Linked DNA regions of Homo sapiens: all the other regions are linked to region 4. The links are contacts of gene promoters, found by promoter capture Hi-C in human tissues and cell types (Jung and others, 2019). All regions are on one chromosome and are shown on one strand. The core of a region is centred on a gene start or on the middle of the fragment in contact, and the rest is flanking DNA. Distances in the headings are between cores, read along the strand shown. Region 1 overlaps ITFG2-AS1 (ITFG2 antisense RNA 1). Region 2 overlaps NRIP2 (nuclear receptor interacting protein 2). Region 3 has its middle 16 kb from the start of CACNA1C-AS1. Region 4 holds the start of TEAD4 (TEA domain transcription factor 4). Region 5 overlaps FKBP4 (FKBP prolyl isomerase 4). Region 6 has its middle 4.8 kb from the start of LINC02371. Region 7 overlaps TSPAN9 (tetraspanin 9).

Region 1 (3,659 bases), core at 893-3,392, 170 kb after region 4:
TTCCAGCACAAGCTCTTTACCTGGATTCAAATCTCAGCTTCATCATTGAACTCACCGTGTGAGTCCTGGAGGAAGGTTTCCTTGTCCCTAAAATGGCTGTCATGATAATGCCTTTCTCTCAGGGGTTTTCTCTGAAGATTAAATGGGTTATTTATTTTTTGGAGACAGGGTCACACGCTGTCGCCCAGGTTGGAATGCAGTCGTGCATCACAGCTCACTGCAGACTCCGCCTCCCAGGCTGAAGCAAATCCTTCCACCTCAGCCTCTGGAATAGCTGGGACTACACAGGCACAGACCACCATGCCTGGCTAACTTAAAAAAATTTTTTTTGTAGAGATGGGATCGCCCTGTATTGCCCAGGCTGGTCTTGAACTCCTGAACTCAAGTGATCCTCCTTGGTCTCCCAAAGTGCTGGGATTACAGGTGTGAGCCACTGAGACTGGCAATGGGATATTACATGTGAAGTACCTGAACTTGTATATGGTACACAGGGCGTAGGTGAGTGGTAGTGTGTGTGCCACATTTCAGCCTGTTGATTGCTGGAATATGCAGTTGTGTTTTTTGTTTGTTTGAGACAGGCTCTCGAGCTCTGTCACCCAGGCTGGAGTGCAGTGGCGTGAACATGGCTCACTGCAGCCTCAATCTCCCGAGCTCAAGCAATCCTCCTACCTCAGTCCCCCAAGTAGCTGGGACTACGGGTACATGCCACCACACCCAGTAATTTTATTTTTTGTAGAGACGGGGTCTCACTATGTTGCCCAGGGTGGTTTCGAACTCCTGAGCTCAGGTGATCTGCCCGCCTCAGCCTCCCAAAGTATTGGGGTTACAGACATGAGCCACAGGACCCGGGCCTTGGAATACGCAGTTGAAGATGTGGAAGACTCCAGCCCTGAAGTTGAAAGCCACTGGTCTAGATAAGGCTTTGCTCCATTAGTTCCAGAGGAGTGCTTCTCTTCTAATGTTAAATTACATCTGTGCTTTATGCACCTGGACACTTGACTATGAACTTGACTATCTCATGTAACTCACAGTAGCTTCACCTGCTGATATTCTGTCATTCCAACAAGACTGAAAGCCCCTTAAAGGTAGACTTGGTGTCAACACTTCCATGAATCCCACCATTAGCTGATCTCCTTGAGAGGAGGTAATGGGATATTTGGTGGTTGTCCTGCTGAAACAAAGCTTGTTTCCTTTTATAAAATCTAATTTCTTCCTTCTGATAAATACGCATATTTCTGTTTTGCTCTTGGGGAGATAGGAAGTAGCAAATCTTCATCCTACTGTATCTGTGGATGCACTGAAATTTGGCTTTGGCCTGGATCTTCAGAGGGTCAAATAGCCAAAGGTTGATTTCAGCATTATTTCTGTCTTCCTTGAACTTGTGTGTGATCAAGGATCACGTGGCCGGGTGCAGTGGCTCATGCCTGTAATCTCAGCACCTTGGGAGGCTGAGGCAGGAGGATTGCTAGAGGCCAGGAATTCAAGACCATCCTGGGCAACATAGTGAGACCCTGTCTCTACCAAAAACTAAACACAAAATTTTACATATGAAAAAGCATCATGTATGTGTCTAGGTTATTATCATATCTAATTAGCATAACTAGGACATGGATTGCCACTTGGGAAAAATAGTCTGAACGTCCATCATCCTCAGTTGAAAGTAAATGTATATTTAATATCATAAATGTGCACTGCAGTGATCACAAGAGCAATCCAGCAGCTGTCATTATTGAGAAATTAAGACATCATTGTTCCTTCACTATAACATCCAACTTCTATGATCAGTCTGCTAACTTTTAAAAAAGGTATGAATTGTAATAGGAACAATAATTTATTTGAGAGTTCATATTTATTCTTGTATCCTGGAAGTTCATTCTTTGTTGGTAATAGTTTTTGTTTAGTCAGATATTGACTTAAATATGTGTCCCTTTAGCATTTAGCCAAAATGTGTATTCACTGTATCTCTGAGTCTCACTCTTCACATAGGCTCACAGATGAGATGTTACGTAGCCCTTCTCTCTACGAGTAGCCTCCTCTGGGGGAGTTATTTTGGTTTTTCGTTGGGTTTACCTCCTCAGGTTTAATTTTCTCATGGGAAGAAAGGTTGCTGGAAGCCCTGGCCAGGGGTGGGGATTCTCACATAGATTCCTGGATAGACCAATCTGTCCCTCGTTAGACTCATACGCCCTTGGAGAAGAGGGGTATCTTTTTTTTTAAGGGGCCCTTGTTTGCTAGGGGCTTCATTGATTAATTATGTGGCACCCCAACCATCCTCTCTTTCCTTTCCTTGAGGGGAAAATGATGGAGAACGTCCCACAGCCCCTGTCCTCAGGGCTTGCCCCCTCCCCCCGCAAATTTATACTTCCTGTAGATGGCCAGCCGGTGGAAAGATGTTTATTGAGCACCTACTAGGTTCCTAGGTCTGTACCAGAGGCTGTGGAGTGCAGAGTCTGTGACATAATCTACCTTCCCTTAAGGAGCTTGCCTATAAAGAGAAGTAGAGCAGAACCCAGGACTAGCCAGTGTGGCACAGTTTCAAAGTGCAGAATGGCAGCATCTGGAAAAAGTATTCTGGGAAGTCCTCACAAAGAGCTAGAACTTGAGAAAGAGCTTGAAATATGGAAAATCATATTTACTTACTTTTAAAAGGACAAAACATATATCTTAAATGTATAGCTTGATACATTTTTCCATATGTATGTGTCCACAAAACTGTCACCCAGATGAAGATGTAGAAAATGTCAGCACCCTTAAGGCTCCTGGATGTTCCCTCCCAGTCAATCGTCATCTCCAATAGTAACGACTCTTCTGACCTTTGTCATAATAGATTAGTTGTATCTGTTTTGCACATCATTCAAGAGGGGTCGTACAGTATAGACTCTTTTATGACTGTCTTCCTTCCTTCCACATTATGTTTGTGAAATTCATCCATCTCGTGGCAGACAGGAGTAGCTCATTACCTGTCACTGCTTTGTAATCTTCCATGGTTTGAACACCCCACACTGTATCCATTCTATTGTTGATGACATTGGGGCTTCCAGTTTTTGGCTATGATGAATGAAGCTTCTCTGAATATTTTTGTACATGACTCTTGATGAACATACGTGCTTATTTCAGTTTGGTAGATACCTAAGAAGTGGAATTGCTGGGTTTGGGTGTTCCTTATATTTGGTTTTGGTAGATACTGACAATTGCCTGCAGTTGTGGTTCAGGTTACACTCCCACCGAATGTGTACAAGAGCACCAGTTTGTCCACACTCTTGCCAACACATGGTATTGTCAGTCCTTTTCATTCTAGTGCACCTGGGGGATGTAGAGCTAGATACATAATACATAATCTGTATTTTCTCGATAGCTAATTAAGTTGAACAGTTTTCATATACTTATTGGCCATCTGGATAGCCTCTTTTGTGAAAGACTTGTCTAAATCTTTGGTCCATTTTAAAGGATTTTGTTGGCCAGGCATGGTGGCTCACACCTGTAATCCCAGCACTTTGGGAGGCCGAGGCAGGTGGATCACCTGAGGTCAGGAGTTCAAGGCCAGCCTGGCCAACATGGCGAAACCCCGTCTCTACTAAAAATACACAAAATTAGCTGGGCATGGTGGCAGGCACCTGTAATCCCAGCTACTTGGGAGGCTGAGGCAGGAGAATTGCTTG
Region 2 (3,940 bases), core at 1,441-3,940, 130 kb after region 4:
CTCCTGGCCTCAAGCGATCCTTCCACCTTGGCCTCCCAAAGTGCTTGGATTATAGATAGGTGTGAGCCACAGGGCCAGGGCATTCACATCCTTTTATAGACCATAAAACTTTCTGCCATATAGTAGAGTTATATTATACTTCCTTTAGACTCCTGAAGAATAGCATTCATTGATATACCTTCCGGTAACATATCTTATAGTAAATACTCAATGAATGTTTGGAATGAGAAAACGATGTGTGTGTATATCCAAGCGTATATCAAAATGTCTATGTCCCAAAGTAGGTGAAGTTGTCTTCCTTTGTTTCCAATAGCGAACTTCTTGGTTACTCATATCTGAGTTTCCTAACAGGGATTCCAGTCTTCTCATCCTTCCTCTATTCCTAACCTGGAGTTTTCGAACCAGGAGGCCATCAAACTCCCAAGGATTCCTCTAAACAAACAAATCACCGTTTCTCCATTTCTGGCAGATCTTCCCCAAACTTATGAACCCATCACATATAACCACTTTTTTTTTTTCCATTTTATTTTTTGTAGAGACAGAGTCTTGCTATGTTGCCTAGGCTGGTCTTGAACTCCTGGCTTCAAGTGATCCTCTTGCCTCCAAAGTGCTAGAACTACAAGCATGAGCCACCGCACCTGGTCCACTTCCTTTTTTGATTTATTTATCTGGGAGTTCTGCCCCTATTGTATGAGTCTCATAAAAACCAGTTTTTTTGTTTGTTTTGAGACAGAGTTTTGCTCTTGTTGCCCAGGCTGGAGTGTAATGGCGTGATCTTGGCTCACCACAACCTCCGCCTCTCGGGTTCAAGCGATTCTCCTGCCTCAGCCTCCCGAGTAGCTGGGATTACAGGCATGCGCCACCACACCCAGCTAATTTTGTATTTTTAGTAGAGACAGGGTTTCTACTAAACCCTGGTCAGGCTGGTCTTGAACTCCCGACCTCAGGTGATCCACCCGCCTCGGCCTTCCAAAGTGCTGGGATTACAGGCGTGAGCTACCGCGCCTGGCCCCGATAAAAGCCAGTTTTAAAGACAGTTCATTTTCTCCACTCATTTCTAGGAGGGAATCATCAATGGGCTGGGAAACTGAAGGATCCAATTCCAACCCATTCTCCTAGGGACTCACTGATTCACCACGATTCTTCTTTCTTAGTGCCAGGACCAGCTGCTTAGAGTGGCCGTTGACACAGGCACCCAATACAATCGGATCTCTGCTGGATGTCTCAGCCGCCTGGGGTAAGAATGTGGCCCAAACAAGCAAGTGGGGGACAGGGTTTCTTTTTGGGGTGATGAAAATATTCTCAAATTAGATAGTGACGACAGTTGCATATTTTATCTCAATAAAGCTGTTATTTAACAAAAGAGTGGCTAGAAGACTCTGGCAGAGAAGGCAAGGATTTAGACCCCACGTGAGGTCAGGGGTTGGAGATGAAACCATAGTAGAGAGGGACACCTGCTGATTAATGGGGTGGAACCCTCTAGGGGCTGTGGTAGCCATAACCCTTGCTTCCCAACCACAGGTTAGAGAAAAGGGTCCTAAAAGCCTCAGCTGGGGACCTGGCCCCTGGGCCCCCAACCCAGGTGGAGCAGTTGGAGCTACAGCTGGGGCAGGAGACTGTGGTGTGCTCGGCACAGGTGGTGGGTAAGTCCCCCCTTCTGCAACAGCCCTGGTGCTCACCTCACCTTTCTCTTTGGGGTGGGGCAAAGGCTGAGACTTTCACTCCCTGCAGCACGAGGAGTTCCCAGAGATGTTCTGACTATCCCCCATCTCTGTGCCAGTGTCCTCGGATCTGGGGATGGGGTGGGCAGAGAAGGAGCAACGGCTAAGAGGAGGGCAGCAGTGACCACTGGGAACCCTCAGCCTCTTCTGTTTTCAAATTGTTCCTATAGATGCTGAGAGTCCTGAATTCTGCCTGGGCCTGCAGACTCTGCTTTCTCTCAAGGTAAGGCACCCACTCAGGGCCTGACCCAAAGCACTGGGAAAAAGTAGTAGAAGGCACAGGTGTGGAACCTGGACCAGGTTCTGATGAGAGTGACTTAGAGATGGGCAACTGTCCCTTTGCTTCCTTAGAGGTTCCTTACTTACCACCAAGTGAAAAATCAAGAGAACTGGGTCACCCCCTTCAACAGGAGTCTAGGGAAATGGGGATGGGGGAAGAGCAAAAGGCAGGTGGAAGCTGTGGGAAGTGGGAGGGGGAACAAAAGGAGCAGGCCGGGAGGCAGGTGGCGGGCTGAGGTGACCTGGCATGACTGCTCTACACCCCGCAGTGCTGCATCGACCTGGAGCACGGAGTGCTGCGGCTGAAAGCCCCGTTCTCAGAGCTACCCTTCCTGCCTTTGTACCAAGAGCCTGGCCAGTGACTGCTGTCTCAGTCAGTCCCCAGAGGGAAAGACCTTGCCTTAGAAGAAGAGGCGTGTGGGGAACGGGGGCTCTTGAAGCCAGGTAGCTGGGGACTATGGTGTCTGCCCTTCCAATCACCTCCCTGACCCCTGCTGTCCCATTTTCCCCAGCTGGCCGCATTCCTCTCTGCTTCTCAGCAGCTGTCCTACTCCCCAGGACGAGTTTTCACTAGAGGGCCCACGATGCCAGGATTCTGATTCATCTTCCTCCCAAGAAAAGCAAAGCCAAATCAAGACCACAGATAGGAACCTAAGCACAATGGGGTGCCTGCTTGGGCTGGGTCGAAGGCTCTGCTGACTGCTGTCCTTGTCCATCACCCAATACCACCCCAAACACAACTCAACTTCCCACACCACCATGTCTCTCACCACACCTTCTGGGCCTCATTATCTCCCACAACTAGACCGCCATGCCTCACCAACCTATGTCCCTGGACCTCCTGGTGTCTGCCTCTCGGAGTCTGTGCACATCTGCTCACAGTTGAGTGGGGGAAGAAACAGCCAGAATTCAATACAACAAAGAGCGGGAGTTAGTATAGGAATGTCCATCTCATAAGGCTGAGAGCTATTTTTTCCTGTGGCTGCAAATGTCTGAAGCCAGTTAGTTTGATTACCCTGTGCAAAACCTTGGACATACTTCTGCTATTAACGCTATAGGTATTTATCCGTTTCCACTGGCTTTTTGTACCCACCGAGCCCCTGAGCCTTGCGTGTGTGTGTGTGGAAGAGCCTTGTAGAGAACTGCTCCTGTGAGGCAGACAGGACAGTGAGGTTGTCACCACTCAGACTTCACCTATTCAGCATTCTTTCTGATTTCTAGAACTATCCACCTCATTAGGCCTTCTTCCTATCCCCATCTCTGGCCTCTTGAGCTTAAGCTTGTATTGTCCTGGAATCAGTGGCTTTCTAACCCCCTGCCAGGCTTTGCCAAAGCAAAAAGACAGAGGCTTTTTTTTTTTTTTTAAAGTTTGGGGTCTGTCAGGAGACAGAGGCTTTTTTGAATTCACTGTGAAGAGAAGAACCCGAACCTTAAGACGCCAGATCCCTGAGAGTCTTTCTGGCTGGTTTGAGTCTCTCAAATCATGGATTAGGAGTAAAGAAAGAGGCCAGGCGCAATGGCTCATGCCTGTAATCCCAGCACTTTGGGAGGCTGAGGTGGGTGGATCACTTGAGGTCAGGAGTTTGAGACCAGCCTGGGTAATATGGCAAAACCCCATCTCTACTAAAAAATACAAAAATTAGCCAGGTATGGTGGTGAACACCTGTAATCCCAGCTACTTGGAAGGCTGAGGCATAGGAGTTGCTTGAACCTGGGAGATGGGGGTTGTAGTGAGCCAAGTTCGTGCCATCGGACTCCAGCCTGGGTGAAGGAGTGAGACCCTGTCTCCAAAAACAAACAAAAAAGGAGCAGAGAAAGACAGTGGTACAGCTAACCTGAACAAGGGAACTGGGACCGTTGGGCTGAAACAGTCTTGAGCCTGGGGTTGACTGGGTTAGAGAAGAACCGGGATGCAAGGAGCTGCCTGTGACACCTGGCCT
Region 3 (3,607 bases), core at 60-2,559, 250 kb after region 4:
CTTTATCATGAAAGGATATTAAATTTTGTCAAATACTTTTTCTGCACCAATGAAGATGATCATGTGTTTTCCCCTTTATTTTATTAATGTGGTCTATTACATTGATCAATTTTCATATGTTGAACCATCTTTGCATTCCAGGAATAAATTCCACTTGGTTATGGTGTATAATCCTTTTAATATGCCGCTGAATTTGGCTTGCTAGTATTTTGTTGAGGATTTTTGCATCAATGTTTATAAAAGACAGTGGTCTGTATTTTTCTTTTCTGGTAGTATCTTTGTCTGGCTTTGGTATTAGGGTAATGCTGGCCTCAAAGAATGAGATAGGAAGTGTGCTCTCCTCTTCAATTTTTTTTGAAAGAGTTTGACAGGTATTGATGTTCTTTAAATGTTTGGTAGAGTTTGCCAGTGATGCCATCAGGTTCATGGTCTTTCTTTATGGGGAGATTTTTGATTATTGATTTAATCTCCTTACTAGTTATAGCATGATGTGGATTTTCCAGTTCTTTGTAATTTAGTCTGGGTGAGTCTTGTTTTTCTAGGAATTTGTTTATTTCATCTAGGTTATCCAATTTTTTGGTGTACAATTGTTCATAGTACTCTTATAGTCCTTTTGATTTGTGTATAATTGGTAGTAATGCCTCCACTTTCATATCTGATTTTAGTAATCTAAGTCTCCTCTCCTTTTTTCCTTGTCTGTCTAGCTAAAACTTTGTGAATTTTGTTGATATTCTCAAAGAACCAATTTTGGTTTCATTGGTCCTTCTCTATTGTTTTCCATTCTCTATTTCATTTATTACTGTTCTAATTTTTATAATTTTCCCTCCTTTTTGGTTAATTTGTTCTCATTATAATTTCTTAAGTTGTAAGGAGAGGTTGTTAATTTAAGATTTTTTTTTTTAAATGTAAGAACTTATAGCTATAAAATTTCTCCTTAGCCCTGCTTTCTCTGCATTCCATAGGTTTTGGTATGTTGTGTTTTTGTCTTCATTTGTCTCTAACTATTTTCCAATTTCTCTTGTGATATCTACTTTTTTGATTCAATAGTTAAGAGTGTGCTGTTAAATTTCCACAAATTTGTGAATTTTCCAACTTTCCTTCTATTTTGGATTTCTAATTTCATCCTGCTGTGGTTGGAGAAGATACTTTGTATGATAACTTTTAAAATCTATTGCGATTTCATTTGTGGCTTAACATATGGTCTACCCTGGAAAACGCTCCATGTACTCTTAAGAAGAATCTGTATGCTTGTGTAACTGAATAACGTTTTCTGTATGTCTGTTAGATATAGTTGGTTTATTGTGTTAAGTCCTCTATTTCCTTATTTATCCTCTCTGGTTATTCTATCTATTATTGGCACTGGAGTATTGAAATCTCCAATTGTTATTGTAGAATTGTCTATTTCTCCCTTTGATTCTGCCTGAAGTTTTTGTTCCACATATACTGATGGTCTTTTATTAGGTGTGAAACTGTTTATAATTGTTATAATTTCTTGCTGTATTGAACCTTTTATTAACATATAATGTCTCTTGTAAGCTTTTTAAAATGTAAAGTCTATTTTTTCTCATGTTAGTGTAGCCCTTCCTGCTCTCTTTTGGTTACTATTTGCATAGAATATCTTCCCTATCACTCTTAGTCTGTTTTTGTGTCTTTGGATCTTAAGTGAGTCTCTTGCAGACAGCATATAGTTGGCTCATATTTTTCAATACATTCTGCCAATCTCTGTCTTTTGATTTGACAGTTTAATCCATTTAAATTTAAAGTAATTACTAATGAGGGACTTACTTCTGTTATTTTGCCATTTGTTTTCTAATACCTTCTTTTGTCCCTCATTTCCTATATTACTGTCTTCTTTTGTGTTGAGTTGATTTTTTTGGGAGTAAAGCACTTAAATTCCTTTCTAATTTTCTTTTGTGTATATTCTATAGCAACTTTCTTTGTGGTTACCATGGGGATTGTACTTAAACTCTCAAAATTATAACACTGTAATTTGAATTTATACCAGTTTAGTTTCAATAACATAAAAACTCTGCTTCTTTACTACTTTGTCCTCAGCCCTTTGAGTTGTTGCTGTCCCAAAATTACATCTTTATACACTGTGTGCTCCAAAACACAAACTAATAATTTTGGAAAATGCATTAGTCTTTGAAATTATGTAGAAAATAAAATGTTGAGTTACAAACTAAAGTTATAATAATACTACCTTTTAGATTAGTATTTTTTAAGTACTAGTCTCTTAAATCAAGTAGAAAATAAAAAGTGGAGTAGAAAAGAAAAAGCAGAGTTATAGTTGCCCATGTATTTAACTTCATTGAGATCTTTTATTCTTCATACAGCTTCAAATTACTGCCCAGTGTCCTTTCATTTCACCCTGCAGGAGTGAATTTCTTGCAGGGTAGGTCTAGTGGTAATGAACTCCTTCAGCTTTTGCATATCTGGGAATGCTTTAATTTCTTCTTTACTTTTGAAGGACAATTTTGCCACATATAGAATTCTTCTCTGACAGTTGTTTTTCTCTCTCTTTTAGCACTTTGAAAATACTGGCCTGCTGCCTTCTGGCCTCAAAAGTTTCAGGTGAGAAATTTTCTGTTAATCTTGCTTAGACTACTCTTGTGTGTGATAAGTCACTTCTCTGTTGCTGCTTTTAAGAGTCTCTCTTTATATTTCAAAAACTTAACTATAAGATGTCTTAGTATGGGTCTTTTTCATCTTACTTAGAGTTTGTTAAGTTTGGATATTTATATTCATGTCTTTAGTCAAATTTGGAAAAATTCCAGTTACTATTTCTTCATATGTTATCTCTTCTCCTTTCTTTCTCTCTTATTCTTCTTGGACTTCAACAATGTGTACATTAATCTGCTTGATGGTGTCCCACAGGTCTTTTTAGGCTCTGTTTACTTTTCTCAATATTTTATTTCTGTGTTCCTCAGACTCAATAATTTTCATTGTCCTATATTTAAGTTTACTGATTCTTTCTTCTTCCTGCTCAAATCTGACTTTAAATCACCCTAGCAAATTTTTCATTTCAAGTATTGTATTTTCAGCTTTAGAATTTTTTTTGTTTAAAAACAAATTTAGAATTTTTTTTAGGTGTTCTGTCTCTTTATTGATATCACCATTTGTTCATACATCTTTTTCTTGACTTTCTCTGTATCTTTCTTTAGGTTTTTTTTCTATTTTATTTTATTTTATTATTATTATACTTTAAGTTTTAGAGTACATGTGCACAATGTGCAGGTTTGTTACATATGTATACATGTGCCATGTTGGTGTGCTGCACCCATTAACTCGTCATTTAGCATTAGGTATATCTCCTAATGCTATCCCTCCCCCCTCTTCCCACCCCACAACAGTCCCCGGTGTGTGATGTTCCCCTTCCTGTGTCCATGTGTTCTCATTGTTTAATTCCCACTTATGAGTGAGAACATGTGGTGTTTGGTTTTTTGTCCTTGCGATAGTTTGCTGAGAATGATGGTTTCTAGTTTCATCCATGTCCCTGCAAAGGACATGAACTCATCATTTTTTATGGCTGCATAGTATTCCATGGTGTATATGTGCCACATTTTCTTAATCCAGTCTATCGTTGTTGGACAATTAGGTTGGTTCC
Region 4 (3,926 bases), core at 1,398-3,897:
TCACCCTGGGGCCAAGGCAAAACTGGAATCAGAAAATAGAAGCTGGCACTCTGTTCTCTGGTGACAAAGCCCTGTCTGTCCCCCTCCCTCCTGACCTGGGCCACTAGGACCCTGGATTCCTAAGGACGCGGAACACAGCGTAGGGCCTGGCTCACAGTAAATGCTCGATTCATGTTTGCTAAATAAACATGATAGACAGGGCAAGGTTTCTCAAATGGTGCTCAGAGAAACACTAATTCAAAAAACACTAATCCCTAGGAAAAAGGGGTTCTTACTGAAATAAGCGAAGGAAACACTGGATACAACAGCTATCCTATGGAGTCCATGGGATGTGCCAGGCACTGTGCTGCTGGGTGGGGGCTCTGCAGACATCGACTTTTCACAAGAAACTTTCTGGACAGAAAAGCTCCGCTCGTATTACCCACCAGGAAACAGCCTGAGAGCCTTAAAGGTAGTGAGAGACTCAGGATTTGTACCCTGGTCTGCCTGACCCCAAACCTGTGCCCTTTCCACTCCATCAGTGCTGCTTTTAGACCAGTCGCACACCAGGCCGAAGAGGTGAGAGGGTGAGGTGTTTCCCACAAGAACATCCACATCCTCAGGATGGATGGAGGAGCAAGGACGAGAACCCCCAACCCCCGAGACAGTTTCTGGCTCCTTCCTTCCAAGAAGCCCTACACATGATATCCACGTTGAAGCCCTCATGCAACAAGCTACTCATTCCTCTTCTCAAAGGAAGTGCTGAGTGTCTGGCAAGTTGGAAAGAATGAGGGATTCTTCTACTGGGTTACCTGGTCAGCTCCGAGGAGAGTTAAACCAGGAAAAGTAGTTCAGGCTGGTATACCTCCCTGTTTGTCCTTGAGGGCAACTTAAAAGCACTATTTACACAAGTCTCCAGATTCAAAACTGTCTCCTTTTCCCGGGGATCCACCCCGACAAACCTTCCCAAATCTCACCCGCCCATCCCATCCCCCAAAGGCAAAGATCTCAACTTCCTTCAGCCTCCTACCAGCTTTTTGACCTATTCCAGGCAAGCACAAGACCCTCGCCCTGAGAAAGTCAGCCTCCTGGCTCCAAGAGGCAGGTGGAGCCAGCTTCCTTCCAGCTCTGCCCGGTCCAGGGGAAACGGAGCCTGGAGGCCACACACTCCAAAACCACAGTCAAATTATCCCTGCACTCAGGCAACCAGAGACACTGACTCTTGCCCACGGCTATGTAGGGAGGAAGAACAGTCCTAGCCAGAACCAACATCCTCGAAGAGAAACACATACTCAAGAGACGTGGCATCACACACCTACTCAGAGATACTCACTTTCAGACAGCCCCTTCTCACGCAGACATATACACACACTCTGTCACTCACGTTCAACACAAACAAATACGCCCACTGGAAGCCAAGGTGAGCCACACGTGAACAGACATCACCCACACAGAGACTCAAAGCGAGGGGGACTCGCAGTCAGGTGTCACACAGACTCAGCACAGACGCAGTCAGTCCGCGGGGCCTCAAGTGCCTCAGCACAACGGGGGAAATGTTCACTTTGGGGTTTGAAAGTTCTGCTCCCTGGATCGATCCACTAGTCCCCATCAGGAAACACAGCAGCTTCCCAAGCCCTGAGGTGTAGGACCTTTTGCAGGGGTCCCCCGACTTTCGCATCGCCTTTGCACTTAAAACAGGCAGTCCGCTTACCTCCAGGTCTCTCCCTTCCAGGCTCGAAAAGGGCCCAGCAGAAAAGAGGCATGGGTGCTGGGTCTCTTCTGTTGCCGATGCTCTCGGTTCTGCCTCTCCGGTCCTTTCCACACCGGCCTCCCTTTCCCCCAAAGTCCCGAGTGTCCACCCCCCTTACCCGCCCCTGGAGCCGCTTCGCCTCCAGCAGCCTCAGTCGCGCCGCCTCCACGTGCCTCGCTCTTCCCAGTCTCGTCCCGGGAGGGAGCTCCGCACGCACCGCGCAGACTCCTGCCCTCCGGCAAAGTCCTACCAAGTCCCCGCGCCCCAGCCTTACCGGTCCCAGGGTGCGGGAAGGTGGGATGGGTGCGCTAAGCCAGTTCCAAGGAGTCCGCCCCGAGCGCCAACTCTTCCGGCCGCGGCGATCGTTCTGCGGGGACGACAGGGCGTCAGCGCGCAGAGCCGGGCTCCGGCCGGGGCCGACGGGCGGCGCAGTGAAGGCGGGGCCGCGGGGCCAAGCCCACCCCGCGCCGACCGGCCCCGGTGCGCCCAGCGGAGCGGAGCGGAGCGCGCGGAGGGAGGAGTTTTCCCAGAATGGGACTGACGGGAAAACACGGGGATCCCTATTCCTGGAGGAGTGAGTCAACCGGGAGCGAGGAGGGGAGCGCGGGGCGGACAGGAGGGAAGCGGGAGAGGGGCAGCGAGCAGCGCCGGAGCGCGGAGGGAAGCCAGAGGTCGGGACGGAGCGCGTCGGAGCGCAGAGGTCCAAGGCGGGAACGCGGGCGGCGGAAAGAAAAGAGCAGCCGAGCACGCGGCGCGAGCGGTCGGCTGCGGCGGCGTGGGGCGCGCGGCCCGTGAGGGCGCCGGCGGGTGCGGCGGGCGCGGGCGCCTCTCACCTGGCGGGACGCGGCGGCGCCGGAGCTGCGGCCCTCCCGCCCCCTGGCCTCGAGTGTGCGAGGAGGACGCTGGAATGCGCGGAATGAGGGCTGGAATGAGATGCGCGCCGCGGCGGGAGGGAGGGAGCCGGAGGGAGTGGCGGCGGGGCCACCGGCACCTCGGGGAGGAGACTGCGCCGCGCGCGGGCGGGCGAGGGGCCGGGCCGCCGGGGCGGGGCGGGGCCGGGCCGGGCCGGGGCGGGCGGCGGGGGAGGGGGCCGAGGGACGGCGGGGACCCCTCCACCCGGGCCTCGGCTGCGGCCCCCACGCCCACTAGCCCTTCGATCTCTCCGCTCCGACTGTTTGGCTGCTCGTTGCGCGCCCCGCGCCCTCCCCTCCTGGCGGGGTCCCGACTCCCTTTCCCAGGAGCCGAGAGCCTTCCTCTTCGCCGGGGTGGGGCTGTCCCGGGGGCGGGGGGGTGGACGGGGCCCAGACTCCCGCCCCGCCACCCGGCGTCCCTCCGCACGAGTCCCTGGGAGGCCGGGGAAGGGGCGGGCTCCCGGCGCGCAGGAAGGGCTGCTCCCTTCCTGCGGCTCCCACCAAAGGACACTTGCTCCGGGGAACCAGGAAGCAGGAACTCGCGGGCTCCATTCCCAGATCCGCTGCCAGTGCCCCCTCGCTTGCCCTCCCCGGCTTTAGCTCTTTCCGTTTTTCTCTCCTGCCCCTTGGGCATCTGTAAAACCGCCACTACGAGTAAACCACATGGGAGAAAGGGCACTCGGTTTGAAGTCCATGTGGCATGCCATGGGACGCCTTCTGGGCTCAGTGACTCAATGAATATTCATCTAAGATGTGTGATGAGTCCAGATACTGTGAAGATCAGGATCAGCCGTCAGCACCTGCCCTCAAAGAGCTCAGAGTTTAGCTGGGGAGGCCTCGGTGTATACTGCCATCGGTGAGAGTCTGGACTTCAGACACACATGCCCAGGAGTCTCTTATTGGGGCAGGAGGTGCTGGAAACACGCTGGGCTCCTTGTTTGGAGACGCTTAGGACAAACGGGCTTAAAGCAGTGTGCTGGCAGGTAGCGCCATCATCTACCTGGCCAGGAGACTGAAACCAAAGGACTTTTGGCTTTTTCCAAAAATCAAATCCAACCTTTTCTGGGGCATTATCACTTAGCCTTGTGTTGGGTGGTTGTCTAGATCTTATCTCCCTTGCCAAACAGAAACTTCCTTGAAGACAGAGTAATGTCTGATTTATCTTATCTTTCACACAGATCCAGCCTGGTGCCTGGGATAGGGAAGTGCATGATAAATGCTGCATAAATGAAAAACAATTGCTACCGTGGAAGATATTGAAAGGAAAGTGCTATCGATGCCAAAGT
Region 5 (3,995 bases), core at 1,006-3,505, 150 kb after region 4:
AGCTCTGCACCGGGTGAAATGCTGTTATTCAGAGCTCTACTAAGTCTCACTGCCTTCCTCAAGTTTGCCCCTGTTAAAATGCACCACCAACTCTGGGACGCTTTAATCCTAGAACTAACTCATCAGGATTGTCTGCTCAAGACTACTGATGGATGAGAAGTTCACTGTCACTGTGTCACTTAAACATTAGGAGACAGGGTTAAAACACAAAGAATGAGGAAGACGTTTTGGAACTAGATTAACACTGTAAAGACTAAATGGCCACCAAACTGTTGAATTTAAAATGGTTAACTTTGTTTCACCTAAAAATGTGAATTTCACCTAAAAAAATACAAATCAGTTTATGTCTGATGCACTTCTAAAACAGGAGACTGAAGATCCAATGGAATATAGAATATACATGCTGATCCTCTCTTCTAGCCACAGGACCCTTGACATTCACAAAGGCATTGCTTTTTCTTGATCATCCCTGAGACCATTCACTCTTACTTTGCCTCTCAAATTGGTATAGCATGGCAGGGCACAATGGCTCACGCCTGTAATCCCAGCACTTTAGGAGGCTTAGGCAGGCAGATCTCCTGAGGTCAGGAGTTCGAGACCAGCCTGGCCAACATGGTGAAACCCCATCTCTATTAAAAGTACAAAAATTAGCTGGGCATGGTAGTAGGCACTTGTAATCCCAGCTACTCAGGAGGCTGAGGCAGGATTATTGCTTGAACCTGGGAGGCACATGTTGCGGTGAGCTGAGATTGCGCCATTGCACTCCAGCCTGGGCAACAAGAGCTACACTCTGTCTGGAAAAAAAAAAAAAAAGCTGGGCATGGTGCCATGTGCCTGTAGTCCCTCCCAGCTACTCCGGAGGCTGAGTTGGGAGGATCTCTTGAGCCCAGGAGGTCGAGGCTGCAGTGAGCTGTAACTGCATCACTGCACTGAGCCTGGGCAAAATAGTGAGACCCTGTCTTAAACAAACAAACAAACAAAAAAACAAAAAAAAGAAAAAAAAAATAGGCTGGGCGCAGTGGCTCACGCCTGTAATTCCAGCACTTTAGGAGGCCAAGGCGGGTGGATCACCTGAGGTCAGGAGTTCAAGACCAGCCTGATCAATATGGCAAAACCCTGTCTCTACTAAAAATACAAAAATTAGCCAGGCGTGGTGGCGTGCGCCTGTGGTCCCAGCCACTTGGAAGGCTGAGAGAGAATTGCTTGAACCTAGGACGTGGAGGTTCCAGTGAGCCAAGATTGCGCCACTGCACTCCAGCCTGGGGAACACAGCAAGACTCCATCTCCAAAAAAAAAAAAAGAAAATAAATTAAATTAAAAAAATTGGTAGTGTTATTTAGCACAGGATAAATTAATGTTTTTATTATTTCTAGGTTTTCTAACTGGGGATAGTTAATGCATCCACATCATCTGAGGTTGGCAAACAGCTGGGGAACTGTAGCCATAAGGCAGCAATAATGAATTCCAGAAAGAGAACAAATTTTCCTTACTTACAATGTCCAGACTCTTACATTGGTTGTATTCAGCACTGCCCTTAATGCATTGTCGTTTCAACTTGTTTTAAGGTTCTGAGGTGTTTTGCATTTGGAAAGGGAAAATTAGTCACTGAGACGTAACAGGAATAAGGTTTGAGAAGTTCTGCTTTCTAACTTTTTCCAGTAATGACATTTTCTAAAAAGATACTACACTTTACTAGTCCTGCATAAAGTGCCTTTCACATATTTTTTCTCCAATGGAAATGGAATACAGTCCTCCATTCACCCTCAGGGTGGCGAAGCTGGCATAGAGTGAGGGCAAGTGTTAAGTGCACTTTGCCAAGCCTTGCAGGGTTTTGTGGGCCATGATAAGGATTCTTTAGCCTAAATGGGATGGGTAATCATTGAAAGTGATTTAAGTACTCGGAGGGACACGATTGGGATGCAGTACAGAGTGAACTGCAGGAGGGGCAGGAGGGAATCCCAGATAGGAGCCTGGGATTTGCAGGAGAGCAGGCTGGAGTGCATGGTGATGGGAGGGAGCGGTACTAGTATGGAGGGAGTAGAAATACTTGGGAGATAAAATTCATGGAACTCGATGTTAGAACCAGCACTAGGGCAAGATAAACCCTATTTTAAATTTTTCTAGAGACCACTTGCAAAGCTTGTTAAAAGCTCACAGTACTGCTTGCTACTAACTTTTCTTTCTTCAGGCACATTTCTCTGCATATAGAAAGATTTAAGTGTCGGTAGGCAGGGACAACTGACTGGGAAATGAACTTGTAGCACTGACCCAGGGCAGACTTGAGTATGTGGCAGGATTATTTTTAGGCTGAAAGACTTGTAGGCATTTTAACAAAACATCCTCACTAGACAGTTTTAATGTTACATAAACTAAGACTTATCTCTAGATGTTCCACGGTTACATGCAGTTTTACATTCTTGGAATCCTACAGGATGCAGAGCTGGAAGAAACCTCAGGAATGCTTTCGATTTTGCAGATGAGGACAGAAGCCCAGGACTTGCCAAAGGAACCTCATGGGAGAGTCTGGATTAGTTCAGAGACCTCACCTTTCCATTTAACTTCTGAGTCTTGGTTTTCTTATCTGTAAATAGGGTTATTAAAGTTATACCTTCTTTGTAGGATGGTTGCAAGGATTCAGTTTCACTCATGTGATGCTGTCAGTACAGTGCTAGGCTTACTCCATAAATGCTTGAGTTAGTGATTATTGTTGGCTGCAGGCGTAAGAATCTACTACTTTTGAAATACCAAGAGGACCCAGACACAAACCACAAACACAGGGCTGTGATGTGAGGTAAGCCCAGTAAGAAAGCAGTTACACAGGGACTTTTTTAAAAAAGAGATGGTCTCACTCTCTTGCCCAGGCTGGCGTGCAGTGGCACAGTCACAGTTCTCTGCATCCTTGGTGTCTTGGGCTCAAGGGATACTCACACTGGGAGACTTGTACACCCCAATTTTAATCCTGGCTCCAGCATCAGCTGTGTTGTATGACTTGGTGAAAATTTTCACACAGAAATACATCTTCCACCATTATACATTTCTTCTGGAAGGAACTATACAGGCATGTGGCTAAGCAGACAACCACATCGCTGTTGGGAAAGGACTGGAGAGCTCACAGTAGGAGAGAGGGATGAGGGCAGACACGGGCTCTGGCCTGGAGCCAGGATTATCTGGAGGCAGCTCAGCATGACTGGCTTGTGCTGCCTGGCTTCTCCCAGGGCCCCATCATGCCATAGGAGTTAAGGGTCAAAGCATAGTTAGAAAAAAAGCACAAGCCTTTTCCTGTTAAGGCTGAGAAGGAAGCTGGACGTGAACACTCTGCTTTACTCTTAACCTTAATCATGTAAGTTATCTGACAGGAGGAGGTCAGTGACACCAGGAGTTTTACCTTGTTAACAAACCAAAATGCAGATACCTCTGCCAGATCAGAGGTAGGCAGAAGACCAATTCCAACTTCAAAATGAACATGCATGGTGTCCCAGTCTTCTAGATCTTTATACTTTCGTCTTCCTAAGTGTCAGGGAAGAAAACCAGAGGCACTAAAACTGCCAGGTTGCTGGAGGGAGGGAGTGCTGGGAACCTTGGGCGAAGCCATAGACACAAATCCCAGCGGCAGCCTGTGCAGTGCTCAGGAAGCCATGCATGGTGGGGCTGCTTCCTGCCCAACTATGGCATCTACATGAGATGCTCACTTATTTAAGCTCAACTGGAACTAAGTGGGTGACCCCTTGATTGTGCTACTACCCATTATGTACCCACCCATACCCACCACTCCAAGGCTGAACAGAAAGGGTTGTCTGACACCCAGGTTTTATTGTTTCCACTTTATTGCTCAAGCATGGAACTTGAGGCAAGCCTGGACCTTCAGCAACGTGCAGAGAAGAGGCTGAGGGGATTTTGGGACACAACCTGGCCGAGAGGGGAAACTGACAGGGGAAATACCAGAACAGGGAACAGGGGGTGGTCACCATGACACCAGAAGACATCATCAGCCACAC
Region 6 (3,836 bases), core at 1,160-3,659, 220 kb after region 4:
TGCATTGATTACATTGATTCATATGAAATTGCTGATATTTGATCATTTTTACCTCTAAAAATCATAATTTCATCTGGTTCAAACTAAAACGTCAAAGCTTGCTTCAGTAAGGCTCATGTCCCACTGGACTTGTAGCCAGACGGTTGGGAGTGCAGGGTGCTTACAGGAAGGTGACTGGAAACCCTGCCGCAGGGCTCCTCTGCACACTTTGTAGCATCGCGGTTACAGAAGAGAGGTGCAGGGGACTCATGGGGAATCCTATATAGCCACAAAGTCACGCTTTTCCAGCTGAAAAGTGTATAGCTGACTGAAAACATCTGTCACTATTGCAGGAGGACAGAGAAGTACAGCAAATCTCTGCATCTCCAAGACTGGGAAGCCATCTCTGGGGTGATCTTGCAGAGCAGGCCCTGTAGTTCCATCGTTGTGTGGATCTGCACAGCAGGCTGTAATGCAGAGCCACTGCTGGAGCTTTAGAAATAGAGTTGTCAAATGGGTGGTTCTTCAAAGATATGCCTACAAAGTTCTCTGCAAAAACAAAAGGCTTGCTATAAGGAAGACTCCACTGCAGGGCAGCGGATGAGCAGCTTACCACCTGTGGATCTTAGTCAAGTCAATCTCTCTGAGCCTGTTTCCTCATCTATAAACGGGGATGATAATGCCTACCTCTTAAAGACTGTGCATAGCTTGCTTGGGCTGTCATACTGAATATCACAGACTGGGTAGCTTAAATAACAGAAATGCATTTTCTCCCAGTTCTGGAGGCTGGAAGTCTGAGATTCAGATGCTGTCAGGGTTGTTTTCTGGGGAGGGGTCTCTTCCTGGCTTGTGGATGGCTGCCTTCTTGCTGTGTCCTCACGTGGCCTCTTCTCTATGTACACGCAGAGAAAGACATCTGTAACATCTGTTCCTTTTCCTGTAAGGACACTAGTCCTGTCAGATTAAGGTCTCATGCTTACAACCTCATTTAACCTTTATACCTCCCTATAGCCCCTATCTTCAAGTAGTCATATTAAGGGTCAGGGTTTCCATATGTTAATTTTAGGGGGACACAAATCGATTCATTATAGACTGTTTTGAGGCTCACAGGACATAGATTATGCTCCGAAAATGGTAACTCTTTGGATATGCGTCATCCAGGAGGCCTAACAGGTTGCAGGGAATGAGGCTGATGAAGAAAAATCTGACCAAAGACCAAGATATCCCCAGGTCCTTGGAAGAGAACTGAACATGAGCACCAGATCCCACTCGACAGCATCAATATTTCACCGCACCTGGATTTATGCTTGAATCCACTGTTTAATAACTACCTGTGGCTTTCTTTCCTTAGTGCCAACTTCTCTCTCACTTCCTGGATTCAGTCACCCCCCACCAACTGTGCCTTGTCTCCTTCCCTGCTAGTCAATGAGCTCAGGCCTCTGTCCTTGATGGCTTGGCTGTGAACAATAGCTTCCTGCCTGAACTTTTGCCTTTATCCACTCAAATCCACTCACACCACAGACAGGCTGATCATGTACAATGTAGACTAGATCCTGTCACTTCCTTATTTGAAATGTTTCAGTGACTTCTATGATTTTAAGATAAACCCAAGCTTGTTAACAGGCTCACAAGGCCGACACCACCCACTCTAACCCCCATGTCCCTTGGCCTGGGTGCTTGCCACTCACCTACAAGTTTCACCCTCAGACTCAGATGCTCCTGGGTCTCTGCCTCTTTCTCTGCCCACTCCTGTTTGCTCCCACATCCTTGCCCCGGTCTGACTTTTCAGATCCCAGATTCCAAGTCACACCACCCTCTGGGGCCTTTTCTTGGAGTTGGGTCAGGCTTCATGTGTCCACGGGGCACCTGTTCCTCCTGTCCTGACGGTTACCTCACCGCACTGATTCTCTGTCCGCTTTAGGCTCTGAGCTCCAGGAGACGGTTGGCTGTGCCTACAGTTTTGTTTATCGTGGTCCCTGGCACAGCGTCTGGTCCAGAACAGATGCTCAAGTACTGGCTGAATAAATTTTCCTTTATGAATCATTTTTAATATTTCTGCTCCTATGTTCACAGAAGGCTTATTCGCAATAGCCCAAAGGTAGAGACCACTCAAGCATTCCCTGATGAATGAATATATAAAAGTGTGGTCTACTCATACAATGGAATATTATCTACCCTTGAAAGGGGATGGAATTCTGACACATGCTATGACATGGATGAACCTTGAGGGCATCACGTGAAGTGAAATAAGCCAGACACAAAGGAACAAATATTGTATGAATTCACTTCTCCTTCTCCTTCTTCTTCTCCTTTTTTGAGACAGAGTCTTGCTCTGTTGCCCAGGCTGGAGTGCAGTGGCGTGATCTCAGCTCACTGCAACCTCCGCCTCCCAGGTTCAAGCAATTTTCCTGCCTCAGCCTCCCGAGTGGTGACAGTTGCCCAACAATGTGAACATGCTTAATGCCACTGTGTCATGTTGCCCAAAATGGGTAAGATGGTAAATTCTGTGTTACGTATATTTTACCCCAATAAAAATAACTGTACTAAAACACTGTTTATGCAATTCCAAGTGACAAAACTAAAACCCCCAGGTAATACTGTAGAGAGACAGAAATGGATCAGGGTCCCCTGCTAGGGGCTGTGGTCAAGATTCCAGAGCCCATGGTGGGCAGGTCGCATAAAGGTCCCCACCATGGCTGGTCTTAATGCCACTAGATGGCCTCAGGTTACTCTTCCACCTGCTCCAGACCCAGCTGCTCATTTTTGTGTTCATGTCAACTGAGATATTTAAAAAGAACACCCAGGGCTTCATGAAACTGTTCTTAGAGTCTACTCACCAGGCTGCCTGCTAAGCAAGAGTGCCTTGAAATAGGCTTTGCTGCAGGTCCAGAAAGGAAACGTCCTTAAAGGCCCAGCAGCAGACTGTTTCCAAAGATGACCATACCTGCAGCTCCCATCTGGCAGGATTTTTGCAAGAAGATCTTATCTCTCCTCCTATCAAGGGGGAGCGTCTGTCAGCATCCCTTTCCCTTCCCCTTCCCCTGAGTCTGAGACTGCAGAAGTGAGGTTGAGTGGCTTCTGAGGCCGTGCCATGACAGAAATCCTGTCTCTGGGGACACCAGTTGCCACACAACGAAGAAACTCAAGATAAGAGATTGAGTTAGGAAGTGTCCACTCTCACCACTCCTATTTAACATAGTACTGAAAGTCCCAGCCAGAGCAATCAGGCAAGGGGTCGGGGTGGGGGGACGTGTATGGACCAGGCAGGCATCGTGTGAGTGATCCTCAGCTTAGCCCAGCTGCTGGCCACTGGGACTTCATTCAAGAACACCCAGGCTGACGCTATGTGGGACAGAGTAGGCCAGCCAGATGCAGCCCCACCTGCTGGCCCATGAATCATTAGGAATAATCCACCATCACAGAAGTGCCTTGATAGGATTTCCTGCAACTTCAGGAAGGAAACGTCCTTAAAGTCCCCAGTGGCAGACTGTTTCCAAAGATGACCATACCCGCAGCTCCCGCCTGGTAGGAGTTTTGCAAGGAGACCTTATCTCTCCTGCCATCAAGGGGTATGGGAATAGAGAACCAAAACCATGTTTTCTACCAAATGGAACACACAGAGCGTAGAACTGTATTGCAGAGCACTCTGGCACGCCCCCTCCACCTTGTATTCCCTGTGATGCTATTAAACAAGAAACAAAAAACAACAACAACAACAAAAGGATATCAGCCTGCAGCTCCTCATCCCATGCTTCACCTGTTTCGTCTCTCTGTGCAGGTGTCTGGTGTGTGTCGGTAGGCACGCACAGTTGGCCATGCTGTTTGTCAAGCATGTAACATCTGTGGTTTTCCCTTTT
Region 7 (3,911 bases), core at 369-2,868, 130 kb before region 4:
AAGGGGTCTGCACTATCTTCCAAAGATCGGTGGGGTCTATTCCTCATTATCTCTGCGGTCTATTCCTCATTATTCCTCATTACCTGTGGGGTCTATTCCTCATGCTTCTGGGCACAGGGAGGGATCGCACGTCCGCGTCCTCCCCACCTGGAACACACATACCCTCCTTGTGCCGTGGCCAGCCTTCCCACCAAGAGGTGGAGTCTGCCCGCCCCTGGAGTTCTGCTGGTCCCATGACTTGCTGTTACCAGCAATCAACAGACAATGCGTGTGTGAGGCTTCAGGGCCTAGATATTAAGAGGTCTTGTAGACTGTTTTCACCTGAAAGGCTAGTTTCCTTGACAGTGAGAAACCACGTAGCAGGGGAGCCCAGCTGACAGCCAGCACCAACCACCGGATATATGATGAAGCTTCCTTGAGCTGTCCAGGGCCTGCAGAGCTACCAGCTGACTGCTACCGCATTAATAAGCCCAGGCAAGACTGCAGAGACCAGCCCAAAAGGCTAACCCGTAGAACTGGAAGCAAAGAAAATGGTGTTTGTGTTAATCCACTATATTTTGGGGTGGTCTATGCAGCATAGACCTCAGTGATGAATGGAACAAAATCCATTCAGCAAGTCTGCGCCAACTACGGAAAAGAATAAGGTTGTTCTGAATGTACTGATGTGAAAAGATGCCTAAAGAACGGGCAAAACAGTAAGTTGAATTCAATTCTATTTATGGAAATTGAGAAGATAAATAGGTGGACGGCTGGATGCTAGTCTATCCAGAAATATCTGGAAATAATACAAACCAAAGTATTAACAGTGATTATCTCTGATGGGTAGGATTAGGGGAGATTTTCCTCTTCTATAATTTATGTAATGTTTGGATATTATAATGAGTTTTTATTATTTTGCAACAAAAAAAAGGATGCTTTTATTTTATTTATTTATTTATTTATTTTGAGACAGGATCTCACTCTGTTGCCCAGGCTGGAGTACAGCGGCGTGATCACAGCTCACTGTAGCCTCAAACTCCTGGGATCAGGCAACCCTCCCACCTCAGCCTCCCGAGTGGCTGGGACTACAGGTATGCATGCCTGGCTACGTTTTTTAATTTTTTGTAGAGTCAGGATCTTGCTATGTTGCCCAGGCTGGTCTCAAACTCCTGAGCTCAACTGATCCTCCCACCTCGGCCCCCCAGAGTGCTGGGAGTACAGGCATAAGCTACCACACCCAGCCAAAAGGATGCTTTTTAAAAAAAAATTCACCTTGAGACCAGGCGCAGTGGCTCACACCTGTAATCCCAGCACTTTGGGAGGCCAAGGAGGGCGGATCACGAGGTCAGGAGATCGAGACCACCCTGGCCAACACGGTAAAACCCCGTCTCTACTAAAAATACAAAAATTAGCCAGGCGTGGTGGCACATGCCTGTAATCCCAGCTACTCGGGAGGCTGAGGCAGGAGAATCGCTTGAACTAGGGAGTGGGAGGTTGCAGTGAGCCAAGATCACGCCACTGCACTCCAGCCTGGGGGACAGAACAAGACTTGTCTCAAAAAAAAAAAAAAAATTCACCTTGAATTCTGCTACAATCTAATTTTTCCTATAATGTCCCTTTTCTTTTTTTTTTTCTTTTTTGAGATGGAGTCTCGCTCTGTCACCCAGGCTGGAGTGCAGTGGCGCGATCTCAGCTCACTGCAAGCTCCACCTCCCAGGTTCATGCCATTCTCCTGCCTCAGCCTCCCGAGTGGCTGGGACTACAGGCGCCCGCCACCACGCCCGGCTAATTTTTTGCATTTTTAGTACAGATGGGGTTTCACCGTGTTAGCCAGGATGATCTCGATCTCCTGACCTCGTGATCCGCCTGCATCGGCCTCCCAAAGTGCTGGGATTACAGGCGTGAGCCATCACACCCAGCCTATAGTGTCCCTTTTCATCCTGTCATTCCACTGTTCAAAGACCAACACTGGCTCCCACCACCAGCCTCCCGCGCCTGAGCTGCTCCAAGCAGTATGTCAGGTGCCCCAGACAGAACAGCTCACCCTCTCCTGCAGGCCACACCTGTCCCCACCCCAACCAAGCTCCCAGCCAGCATTACAACCCCTCAGAGACCCTTCTCTTCCCTCCCTAAATCCCAGCCCTCCCTCAAGGCCCAGCCTGATCCCCTCTGAGTTTCTCAAATGGATGCCAAGAAAAAGTTCCACCAACCCTGCCCTGAATTGCATGGTCTCCAGTGTTCTCCCTGCACTGCGGGCACGAACTGCTCCGTCCAGGAGACCTTCACAGACCACCAGCTCCAGCTTCTCTGGCCAACAGTGGGGGCAGGCTGAGCCAAGACAGGTTGTTCCAGCCCCCTCCCCTCTCTGCCGGCCACAGCCTGGATGATGGGTGACAGCCAGGCCTGGAGCTTCCCCCCCAGCCCCACCCATCCCCAGCAGCAAGTCAGTGGAAGCCAATTTGAAATGGCTGCTAATTTGGAGTGACTCACACCATGGGTGATGCTGTAAGCGCCTCCAGGTCCCACATGCTGCAGACAGCACTCAAAATGGTCGAACAAATCCAAACTCTGGCTTCAAACCTAATTGTTTTCCTGGGGGACCCAATGGCTCTTCCTCACTCAGGTCTTTGCAATCTGCATGTCCAGTTTTTAAACAAAGCTGTTTAGAATCTCCCAGGATTAAGACAAGTGGAAAATTGCAAGCCCAGACCTCTACCTCATTTTCTCTAAAACAAAACATGTCATCCTGCATGTTCACACACCCGGAAAGACACAGTTCATTCAAACTCAGCTGGGCACCCTGCCCCTCTGAGCCCTCCTGTAGAGCCTGGCCCTGAGACGGGGCTGGGGACTTGCTGAGGCAGGATCTTCTCCTACTGTCCCTGGCACTGCCACCCTCAGGGCTTGTCGGAGAGCTTTGGGCCCCTAAGCCTCAGTCTCCACACTGGCAGGTGGCCAGGGGAGAGGCCGTCAGCAGGGTTCCCAGGTACCGTGTCCAGGTTTTACCCTGCCATCTAAGGGGAAGGCACTCACATCACAGGTATATACTGACATTTTTTTTTTTCCAAGATGGAGTCTTGGCTCTGTTGCCCAGGCTGGAGTGCAGTGGCCAATATTGGCTCACTGCAACCTCCGCCTCCCAGATTCAAGCAATTCTCCTGCCTCAGCCTCCCGAGTATCTGGTATTACAGGTGCGCACCACCAAGCCCGGCTAATTTTTGTATTTTTAGTAGAGATGGGGTTTCACCATGTTGGCCAAGCTGATCTCGAACTCTCGACCTCATGATTTGCCTGCCTTGGCTTTCCAAAGCGCTGGCATTACAGGTGTGAGTCACCATGCCCGGACCCTTTTCTTCTTGAGACAGGGTCTCACTCTGTCACCCAGCCCGGAGTGCAGTGGTACGATCATGGCTCACTACAGCCTCAACTTTCTGGGCTTAAGCAATCCTCCTGCCTCAGCCTCCTGAGTAGCTGGGACTACAGGCACACACTGATTACCACACCTGACTAATTTTTTTTTCTATTCTTATTAGAGACGAGGTCTCACTATGTTGTCCAGGCTGGTCTCAAGCAATGCTCCCGCCTTGGCCTCCGAAAGTGCTGGGCCTACAGATGACAGCCACTGTGTCTGGCCTATACTGATCTATTGAGAGTGCACACGTGGGCCCCTCCACTGAGTGCCAAAACAATGCAGAGTGCCCTCCCACACAAACCCATGCAAGCACACCCAACACACATGTAAGGCAAGTGTGCACATAGTCACTAACACCCACACATGTGCATGGCTGCACCCTGTTTCAATCTTGCTCTGAGAATCCCTCCCACCCCAGCTCACTTCCCTCACCTGTTCACTGTCCTCAGAGGCCCTCTCCCTGACTCTGAACCTGACACATTCCCCACATTGCAAGGGGAGGGACCAGACTGTGTGTGTT

What was found. Contacts are between HindIII fragments. The study calls those that stand out against the background at their distance.
Region 1: a fragment that was not itself captured here is called in contact with the fragment with the promoter of TEAD4 in region 4 in 6 of the 25 tissues and cell types used here (IMR-90 fibroblasts, adrenal gland, aorta and 3 more).
Region 2: a contact is called between a fragment that was not itself captured here and the fragment with the promoter of TEAD4 in region 4, in 3 of the 25 tissues and cell types used here (liver, mesendoderm cells and neural progenitor cells).
Region 3: a fragment that was not itself captured here is called in contact with the fragment with the promoter of TEAD4 in region 4 in 2 of the 25 tissues and cell types used here (dorsolateral prefrontal cortex and small bowel).
Region 5: a fragment that was not itself captured here is called in contact with the fragment with the promoter of TEAD4 in region 4 in 2 of the 25 tissues and cell types used here (IMR-90 fibroblasts and liver).
Region 6: a fragment that was not itself captured here is called in contact with the fragment with the promoter of TEAD4 in region 4 in 2 of the 25 tissues and cell types used here (liver and pancreas).
Region 7: a fragment that was not itself captured here is called in contact with the fragment with the promoter of TEAD4 in region 4 in 1 of the 25 tissues and cell types used here (neural progenitor cells).

Annotation. Positions count from the first base shown.
Region 1 is chr12:2,787,841-2,791,499 of GRCh38, reverse strand. All of the region lies in intron 2 of ITFG2-AS1 (ITFG2 antisense RNA 1), which reads left to right. Among named protein-coding and RNA genes, the nearest start is that of FKBP4, 5.3 kb to the left of the region's middle. The HindIII fragment of the contact is 5,168 bases long and covers 1-3,659 here.
Region 2 is chr12:2,825,629-2,829,568 of GRCh38, reverse strand. It overlaps NRIP2 (nuclear receptor interacting protein 2), which reads left to right. Exons shown (of 6, transcript NM_031474.3): 3 at 1,155-1,237; 4 at 1,522-1,643; 5 at 1,892-1,944; 6 at 2,270-3,940. The coding sequence ends at 2,362. It also overlaps a transcript of ITFG2 not described here. Among named protein-coding and RNA genes, the nearest start is that of NRIP2, 7.4 kb to the left of the region's middle. The HindIII fragment of the contact is 4,824 bases long and covers 279-3,940 here.
Region 3 is chr12:2,705,219-2,708,825 of GRCh38, reverse strand. No RefSeq gene overlaps it. Among named protein-coding and RNA genes, the nearest start is that of CACNA1C-AS1, 16 kb to the right of the region's middle. The HindIII fragment of the contact is 4,465 bases long and covers 1-3,541 here.
Region 4 is chr12:2,958,118-2,962,043 of GRCh38, reverse strand. TEAD4 (TEA domain transcription factor 4) reads right to left here and starts at 2,647. Exons shown (of 13, transcript NM_003213.4): 1 at 2,563-2,647; 2 at 2,004-2,096. LOC124902859 (a long non-coding RNA gene) reads left to right here and starts at 1,996. Exons shown (of 2, transcript XR_007063159.1): 1 at 1,996-2,303; 2 at 3,819-3,926. RefSeq lists an enhancer at 1,742-2,477. The HindIII fragment of the contact is 29,957 bases long and covers 1-3,926 here.
Region 5 is chr12:2,803,754-2,807,748 of GRCh38, reverse strand. FKBP4 (FKBP prolyl isomerase 4) reads right to left here. Exons shown (of 10, transcript NM_002014.4): 10 at 2,326-3,995. All of the region lies in intron 1 of ITFG2-AS1 (ITFG2 antisense RNA 1), which reads left to right. Among named protein-coding and RNA genes, the nearest start is that of ITFG2, 6.9 kb to the left of the region's middle. The HindIII fragment of the contact is 4,968 bases long and covers 1-3,995 here.
Region 6 is chr12:2,733,308-2,737,143 of GRCh38, reverse strand. No RefSeq gene overlaps it. Among named protein-coding and RNA genes, the nearest start is that of LINC02371, 4.8 kb to the left of the region's middle. The HindIII fragment of the contact is 3,130 bases long and covers 845-3,836 here.
Region 7 is chr12:3,086,940-3,090,850 of GRCh38, reverse strand. All of the region lies in intron 2 of TSPAN9 (tetraspanin 9), which reads right to left. Among named protein-coding and RNA genes, the nearest start is that of TSPAN9, 12 kb to the right of the region's middle. The HindIII fragment of the contact is 5,075 bases long and covers 1-3,911 here.